Regions from separate parts of the Homo sapiens genome. Here regions 1 and 3 are each linked to region 2. The links are contacts of gene promoters, found by promoter capture Hi-C in blood cells and fetal thymus (Javierre and others, 2016). All regions are on one chromosome and are shown on one strand. The core of a region is centred on a gene start or on the middle of the fragment in contact, and the rest is flanking DNA. Distances in the headings are between cores, read along the strand shown. Region 1 holds the start of ZUP1 (zinc finger containing ubiquitin peptidase 1). Region 2 holds the start of NUS1 (NUS1 dehydrodolichyl diphosphate synthase subunit). Region 3 holds the start of RWDD1 (RWD domain containing 1).

Region 1 (2,700 bases), core at 158-2,657, 1.0 Mb after region 2:
GGCCAGGCTGGTCTTGAACTCCTGACCTCAAATGATCTGCCCGCCTCGGCCTCCCAAAGTGCTGGGATTACATATGTGAGCCACTGAGCCTGGCCAATCCAGTTTTATTTTCTTCATAGCACTTATCATGATCAGTTAATTTACTTTTTATTTCCTCTACCTCACCAGCATGTAAGCCTCAAAAATCCTGAATTTTGTGTATTTTGATTACTGCTGCAGCTCCTGTTGCAAGCAAAACGCCTTTCTAATAGACACTCTTTAAATATTTGTTGAATGAAATAAAGCCTGAATGACAAGATATTTGTGATTTTGGGCTAACATGGTGGCTCACACTTTGGGAGGCCGAGATGGGAGGATCATTTGAGGCCAGGAGTTCGAGGCTGCGGTGAGCTATTTTAGCCACTGTGCTCTGGCCTGGGTGACAGAAAGAGTCCTCCTCTCTAAAAATACATACATACGGCCGGGCACGGTGGCTCACGCTTGTAATCCCAGCACTTTGGGAGGCCGAGGGGGGCGGATCACGAGGTCAGGAGATCGAGACCATCCGGGATAACACGGTGAAACCCCATCTCTACTAAAAATACAAAAAATTAGTCAGACGTGGTGGCGGGCGCCTGTAGTCCCAGCTACTTGGGAGGCTGAGGCAGGAGAATGGCGTGAACCCGGGAGGCGGAGCTTGCAGTGAGCAGAGATGGCACCACTGCACTCCAGCCTGGGCGACAGAGCAAGACTCCGTCTCAAAAAATATATATATATACATACATACATACATACAAACCAAGATATTTGTTATCTTGTAACCTTGAGGAAAGAACCTGGTATCCTTTACCTTCGGTGCATAGCTGGGAGCTTGATACCTAGCAGCATTATAAACCCTTTATTGATACTAAAATAGAGTGCTACTCAGCAGGCCCTAGTGTAGACTGCTATTTGCCCCAGGACCTGCCCTGTGAACTCATTCAGATTAAGTATGAATGACCTCAGAGCCCGGTTTTCTCTCCTAGCAATTGAGTGGCAGGAAACTCGATGGGAGAAGGAAAAACTCGGAAATGGGAGGAATGCAAAAATGACTACATCTCTCAGGAGATCGAGACCATCCTGGCTAACACGGTGAAACCCCGTCTCTACTAAAAATACAAAAAATTAGCCAGGCATGGTGGCGGGCGCCTGTAGTCCCAGCTACTCGGGAGGCTGAGGCAGGAGAATGGCGTGAACCCGGGAGGCGGAGCTTGCAGTGAGCCGAGATCGCGCACTGCCCTCCAGCCTGGGCAGCAGAGCGAGACTCCGTCTCAAAAAAAAAAAAAAAAAAAAAAGACTACATCTCCCAGAATGCACTGCATAGAGACCGGCGTGGAGCGGCGCATTCTGGGATTACTTCTTTTCCGTGGGAGTAAGGAAGTGCTTTTGAATGAGGTACTGAGGGCCAAGGTGTTGGAAGTTCCTAATTCTTTCCTCGGTTAACTGTGAAACTCTGCGTATTGGGAAGGCCTGGCCTCAGTCATCAGGCCAGGAGAGGTACTGGACGCCGCGCACGCACTCGTCTGCCAGCGAGGCCCAAAGGGGAAGCCTAGCGGAGCTCAGTGTGGCAGCTGCTGGCCTCTGGGCCGGTAAGAATTGATGGTCCCCTCCCTTATTCCCCAGGCCCAAAGCTTTGACCCAGTTAGTGCCTGCTAGTTTCGTGTGCCTGGCTTGTGCCTTTGGCGCGGAACGTTTGGGAGACTCGGCCTTGCGGTCTTCTGACCTCACCCACCACGTACCTAGCTTGGCACTGGGTCCTTCATGCCTCTCACTCGCTTCCTCTGAGGCACCTGGGTACTCTCTTGTCTCTTACCCGCTTAATCTGAGTCCATGTCCAAGTTCATCATTCTGTGTCTGACCGTGTCCCAGCCACCGGAAGAGAAGAAACTCCGGGTGTGACATTAATCCCACTGGGGGCTCGGGAGAACTGCCTTCTAAAATCAGAGACTGTATCCATTTGTCTGGAGAGAAATGAAAAAAATAAGGACAATGTAGGGAGGTATTTTAAAGGTAAATTTATTTAAATGAAGTGATAGTGTCATTACTTTTCCTGTTTGATTTTAAATAGTCTTTAGCTGAACGATGACCTGTAGTAGGAAGGTGGTGGCGAAGTGATTGCTTTTTTTAAAATTATTTTTTTAACACTTTTATGTCAGTAGTCAGTACTTTATTTGTCCATAAAATCCAAAAATAACTACCTTTGGATTTTACAGTAGTCTTTGACTGAACCTCAGAGAGATGAGATTCCTTACCCAAAATGATGAATCTGAAATTATTACCCAGTTCTCTTGACTCTGGAATAAGTGCTTTTTTCTACTATACCACTTCTGCTTTTATTCTTGGGGCTGAGAGTACAGGCTGTGGAGCACGACGGGGTTGGCATTTTGGCTTCCACCTTTTTCTGCTTGTGGTGACCTGTCTGAGCCAGAATTTCTTTATGTGTAGAGCGATAATAATAGTACTTAAATTACAATAATAGCACTTAAATAGCACTTGATACATGTAAGACTCTAAGTTTACAGTGTTAAACTCTACTTGTAAGATGTGTTTATTTACCTCCTCAATATAATCAGCTTCAGTATTCAGTATTTAGATATATCAGTTGATAAATAGGTTTCTTCTCTTCATTTTTTTCTTACCTGATTTATCTTACCTGGACAATTTTTTAAACGTTATTTTTTC
Region 2 (2,700 bases), core at 11-2,510:
TTTGTGGCCCCATTACGATCTTGTGGCCTTGGGCAAATCAGTTAATGTTTTTAAACCTTGGCAAGGGTATACAAATACCATCTACATTACTGCAGTATTATAACGAATAAGAGATTTTTTATTTATTTTTATTTATTTATTTACTTATTTGAGACAGAGTTTCGCTCTTGTTGCCCAGGCTGGAGTGCAGTGGCGCGATCTCGGCTCACCACAACCTCCGCCTCCCGGGTTCCAGCGATTCTCCTGCCTCAGCCTCCCTAGTAGCTGGGATTACAGGCATATGCCACCACGCCCGACTAAACTTGTATTTTTAGTAGAAACGGGGTTTCTCCATGTTAGTCAGGCTGGTCTCGAACTCCCGACCTCAGGTGATCCGTCCGCCTCGGCCTCCCAAAGTGCTGGGATTACAGGCATGAGCCACCGCGCCCGGCCAAGGGATATTTTTAAAATGTTAAAAAGCTACTGAGTCAAATCCAGAGAATTAGTAGGTGTTCAATAAAGCTGATCTCCCTTCCTCGAAAGCGCTAGCGCTGTGATTTGCAGAGAGGCCGCGGCAACTCGTGCCATGGGCACCACCCGCCAGACCAGCGGTCTAGCGGTCCAAGACGCCTCGGCCACCCCCCACCACCGCACCGGGCCTCACCTTGGTGGTCGTAGACGCTAATGTAGGAGATGCCCACGGCCATACACCACACCACGAGGCTCGCGATGTCCGAGAAGCTGGGTTCCTGCTCCACCTCGGTGATCACCAGGCCCATATGCACAGGCAGCTTCTCCAAGGAACGACCGTCCGCGCGCCAGCGCATCCGGTGGTGTGCGGCTGCCAGGCACGACCCCCCGCGCGGGTGCCGGTGGTGACGGCGGTTCCTGCCGACTGCCGGGGGCTTGCGGAGCGTGAAGCCGAGCGGCGCTAGGACCGCGGCAGAGGCGGCGCGGCAGCAGCGCCGCCAGATCCAGTTCCAGGTGCCGAACCGAACGCGGAGCCAGGAGGTGAGCGTGCGGTGCAGACAGAGCAGCGCGTGCAGCACCCGCCACACCAGCTCGTACAGCCCCGTCATACTCTTGTGGCCCTCAGACACCCCCTCTCCCTCCCGCCCACTCCCGCAGCGCGACGGCTTTTTATCCGCCCCTGCGGCCGGCGCGGGCCATCGCTCCGCGTCCCCCCGCCCCCCGAGCCCGAACCCCTTTCCACTGCCAACACCTCACCTCGCCCCCGCCGCCATCTTCCTCCTCCCTTGGCAGCCCCGCCCCCAGTAGTACATGGACAGTTCCGATTGGCCAGCGTGGAATTCTGACGCGGCTTCTGGGTCCGAGAACGTGGCCCGTTCCGGCGCAGTGAGGGAAGGCGCACGCCTGCGAACTAGCCGGGCCGATACCGCGGGCGCCCCCTGGTCGCGTGGAGGGCGATGAGCGAACGACCCGGGACTTGTCTGAATGGGACCCCAGCAAGGCACACGTGGTCTTCAATGCGATGGGCGCTTCCAGGGGACCCGGCGTCCCTTGGGTCCAGGAAGTCTTATACTGTCTCCTCTCACGGCCCCGACAGAAACGGTTTCTGAGGAGTAGAAGTGTCCTAAGTGGATTGGAAATTACAAATGCCGGAAAGAACCTAGGGATGGAAAGCAGCCCTCAGTAAGTGTTGATGCTGGGAATCCACCAGGGTTTCCAAAAGTGTCCTCAAAGGCTGGAGTGATCCTGCTACTGTCCTTTATTCAGCCTCCCGGCTGAGGCTGGGAGCGAGGCTCTTTAGCCATGTTCCTGAAACACCCCTCTACCCATGTCATTCTCATCTAAGGTATCCTTTCCTGGCTGTACATTGCTTAATAGAGGCTCTACAGCTTGGCAGTCCAGTCACTTAATTCTTTTTTTTTTTTTTTTTTTTTATTCGGCAAGACTTTGACCAACCGCCGTGGGTTAGGTTTACAGTGGGGAAAAAAAATAGAAATTGTGCCTGACTTCAATGACCGCCACTATTTGAAGCAAACTGCCCATCCAAGCCTTATCATCCCCTTTAACACCCTAATGTTTCTGTCCATGTGGACTTCGACGTGGTCCTCTAGAATGGTTTTGTACTTCCCCGCGGTAAGTCTGTACTGTCTTTGCCCTTTTTGTTCAAGCTCTTCTCCTGAATTCCTGATTCCCGACTTGGTATTGCCGACATTCCAACCCATTTCTCAAGGTTTATCCTACATGCTACATCCTCTATCATCATATATATGTGTGTGTGCAACAATAATATTTATATTATTTGCATTTATATTTATATAAGTATATATATAAAGATTAGGGAGGTATTACAAAAATGCAACTGTACACATACACACGTATACACACATATTTACACACGTGTGTGTGTGTAAACAGTTGCGTTTTTGTAATACCTACCTATTCTTTGTTCGCTAAAGCCTCTTTTTCCCCCTGGGAAACATCTGTTCACGTCTTGGCTATGTGACTTAATTTTTCTAACATTGTCACTTTTTCAACTAGTCTCATTTTGGTTTCTAAGACTCATTTAACTTTACTTTAAAAGTTGAATCTCATGTCCATCTCCCTTTCGCAGTGCAATTTTCCTCCCTTTGGCAGTGCAGCCTGAAGAACTGAGGGCTGGGCACCAGGCACACCCTTCACACACTTCTTTCTCTCCAGGTCTCCTCTGCGGTAGCTCCTCTGATGATGGACAAAGAAGGAGAGGCGAAAGGC
Region 3 (2,700 bases), core at 24-2,523, 1.1 Mb after region 2:
GAAAGGGAGAGGGGTTGGAATTTATAAGTTAAAGTAATATACCTTACACTATAAATTCTGACTATCAACGATAGGCAACACTCAAAGGAAAGGATGGGGAATGTAAATGCACACACCTAGGTTCTACTCACTCATATTGGCTTTATTTGACCGCTTCTCAAATCTCAGAGGAGCCATATTGATATAGTTATGTAGCATTTTTATAATCATCCGAAGCATGGCTTAATAGAGAAATCTCGTCCTCTAAATTATACCTAATGAACTTCTCATTATAATATTTTACATTAGCCCAACCTACCAAGTAATCTTCTGCTCTCTCAATCTCAGCTGGAGCTGAATCCCAAGTCCCATATGTCTGGAAAGTGAAAGAACAGGCAAGCGTTCTGGACGTATAACTCAGTACCAGCCCTGCCGCTAACTCGCTGGCGGACAGTACAGAGCAAGCCACTTAGCTTTCCTGAACCCCCATGACCTTGGCTTGGAGCAGGAGCCCCAGGATAGATGATGTTTAATCTCCCTTCCAATCTAACAACCTATGAATTTATAGCAGAACGGAAATTTGGGCCACATTATCCATTAGGCATTCTGCTGAATGCCAGATTTTTTTTTTTTTCATAAGAAAAGAAACCCGACAGACTTCAGGGACTATGCTACTCTCAAAACCGATTTGAGTAACTGAAAACAGCACTCTGAATCCTATAAACTAAAACAGCATCGTATGAAAAACAGTTTCTACCTTAATAAAGCTAAAAATGTGAAAACTAACATTCTTGCGGCTGTGGAAAAACGAATCGCACTTGGAGTATTTTTTCTCTTAATGTATTATAAATCTCAGGTTGCTGTAGGTTACACAGAAACCAAAGTAATCCCGACTCAATTTTCAGGCCTGACACCCTCCAACATCACCCGGACTTTTAGATTTCCGGGAACAAGCAGAGAAGGAGAAAAAGTCACTGGGTTGCTGGTAAGTGACTGAAGAACTTGAGGAGTGGAGGGCAAGGTGGCCGCGCGGCCTCAAGGTCCCCTTCTCCACCCCAACCTATGAGGCCCAGAGCTGCGGCAGCTCCTGCCCGTCCTACTCCACCTCGGGGCGGCTACAGGCTTGCGGCCGCGGGAGTCACCTGTGAAGGAGTCAGGGTAGATGGACTCCAGGGCCTCCAGCTCGTTGCGCTGCTCCTCGCCGTAATCTGTCATCGTGGCCCTTGCTCTTGCCCATAGATCGCCCAGACACCTAGGCGGCGCGCAGCAGCCCAGACAGCTGCCGCGCCGGGAGAGCGGGCGGCGGCCAGGCGGGCGCAGGCGCAGAGTCCCCGGCTGGAAGGCCCAGGGCCCAAAGCCAGACCCGGCTTGCTTAACTGCAGCTCCGCGCCGGCCTCCGCCTGCTCCCTACTTCCACGTTCGACTCGTTCTGCCTGGCCAGGGGGCACTGATTTGCTGCCTGTCCCACACTCGCTCGGGACTTGCTGGGACGGTGCGCGCGGTCTGGCATTCGCCAAGGACACCTACAGCCGGCTCCTGGGCTTTGCAGGGCCTGAGCCTTAGAAGCCTCTCAGCGCTGCATCCTCGCTCGATGAGTCTGGGCTGAAAGGCCGGCATCGCGCGTCAGTGAAGGATAGTGTCGCTGGTGGCCGGGCTGGGGCGAGGGGCGTCCGATGCCTTCACCTTTTCTGGTTTCCGGTTTGACGCCGTGGCGTAGGTGCTGCGGGCTTGCAACCTAGTGTGGACTGGTGGGGCTCAGGAGATTTCTGAGCTTCTCGAACTCCGTATTGCTTGGCGTCCTACGGGAGTTGGACGAGAGGCTGGGACCAGTGTAGATTCCACTGGGCAGGGGAGCAAAAGCTCTGCACTGCCTTGAATGAGTATGGAAGGGTCGGTCTAACTGCTTAATAAGTCGGGGTGGATCCAGGAGGGAGAAATAGACCGGAGGTCCGGCTTCTCGGTTCAGATCTTTAGGCTTAACTTCTGATTTTGTGAAATGAACGCAGCTGGACGTATGATAGATCTCAAGATGTCTGTGATTGTGTATTTGTGAATTGATGAAAGGAATGTAGATCTCAGTAATAACAATTATCATATGCAATGTAAAAATTGCAGTACCCCGAGAAATGTTGAGAACCTTTAATTTGGTAATACGACTTCCAAGAATAAACTTGAGCAAGTAGCATGCATCTGTGATCTCCAAAATCATTGCAGCAATTACAAAGAAAATTTTCAAAGAACCATGATGGCAAAAGCTAAGAAAATGGCTAAATAAACATGGTTAGCTTTATGAAAATGATATTAAAAACTATGGTAACAATAATAAAGGATCCCATGTTCCTTTATTATATTATTGCGCTAAGTCGAAAAATGGAAAATTTTAAGAAAATACTCAAAAGCTGTTGCCCACTTTTCTGTATTTTTCTTTGTTTTGATTTCTCTGTATTAAAGCTGGTTTCACTGGTATAGTGGGAGGAACACTTTTTAAATGAAAGATTCCTAATGATGAAGCCCCTGAAGCACCAGAAGGCACCTTGATCTTTTATTGAGGAGTGCTGCTTACCTATAGCAGAGGAACACTTTGATACTGATTCCGTGTTTACGGTATTAAGGGTTGATTTCAGGCGTTCTTTTAAACTTTAATGAAAAAGTGGAGTCTCCTAACTATGATGACAATCAAATAAAATACATAAAGTAACTTTGCAAGTATAAGTTGCTCAT

Evidence for each region. The method cuts DNA at HindIII sites, captures the fragments that hold promoters and counts their contacts. A CHiCAGO score of 5 or more calls a contact.
Region 1: a contact is called between the fragment with the promoter of ZUP1 here and the fragment with the promoter of NUS1 in region 2, in 8 of 17 cell types (total CD8 T cells, total CD4 T cells, monocytes and 5 more). The highest score is 10.5, in total CD8 T cells.
Region 3: a contact is called between the fragment with the promoter of RWDD1 here and the fragment with the promoter of NUS1 in region 2, in 5 of 17 cell types (total CD4 T cells, non-activated CD4 T cells, naive CD8 T cells and 2 more). The highest score is 10.0, in total CD4 T cells.

What each region holds. Positions count from the first base shown.
Region 1 is chr6:116,667,473-116,670,172 of GRCh38, reverse strand. ZUP1 (zinc finger containing ubiquitin peptidase 1) reads left to right here and starts at 1,407. Exons shown (of 10, transcript NM_145062.3): 1 at 1,407-1,607. RefSeq lists an enhancer at 1,383-1,572 and a silencer at 2,334-2,483. The HindIII fragment of the contact is 3,066 bases long and covers 1-1,651 here.
Region 2 is chr6:117,674,029-117,676,728 of GRCh38, reverse strand. NUS1 (NUS1 dehydrodolichyl diphosphate synthase subunit) reads right to left here and starts at 1,260. Exons shown (of 5, transcript NM_138459.5): 1 at 644-1,260. The coding sequence starts at 1,058. LOC101927919 (a long non-coding RNA gene) reads left to right here and starts at 1,445. Exons shown (of 3, transcript NR_110854.1): 1 at 1,445-1,632; 2 at 1,894-2,082; 3 at 2,647-2,700. The HindIII fragment of the contact is 6,476 bases long and covers 1-2,700 here.
Region 3 is chr6:116,570,077-116,572,776 of GRCh38, reverse strand. It overlaps RWDD1 (RWD domain containing 1), which reads right to left and starts at 1,273. Exons shown (of 7, transcript NM_015952.4): 1 at 1,122-1,273. The coding sequence starts at 1,194. RefSeq lists enhancers at 1,019-1,118, 1,339-1,668, 1,699-1,878 and a silencer at 1,219-1,298. The HindIII fragment of the contact is 4,586 bases long and covers 1-2,700 here.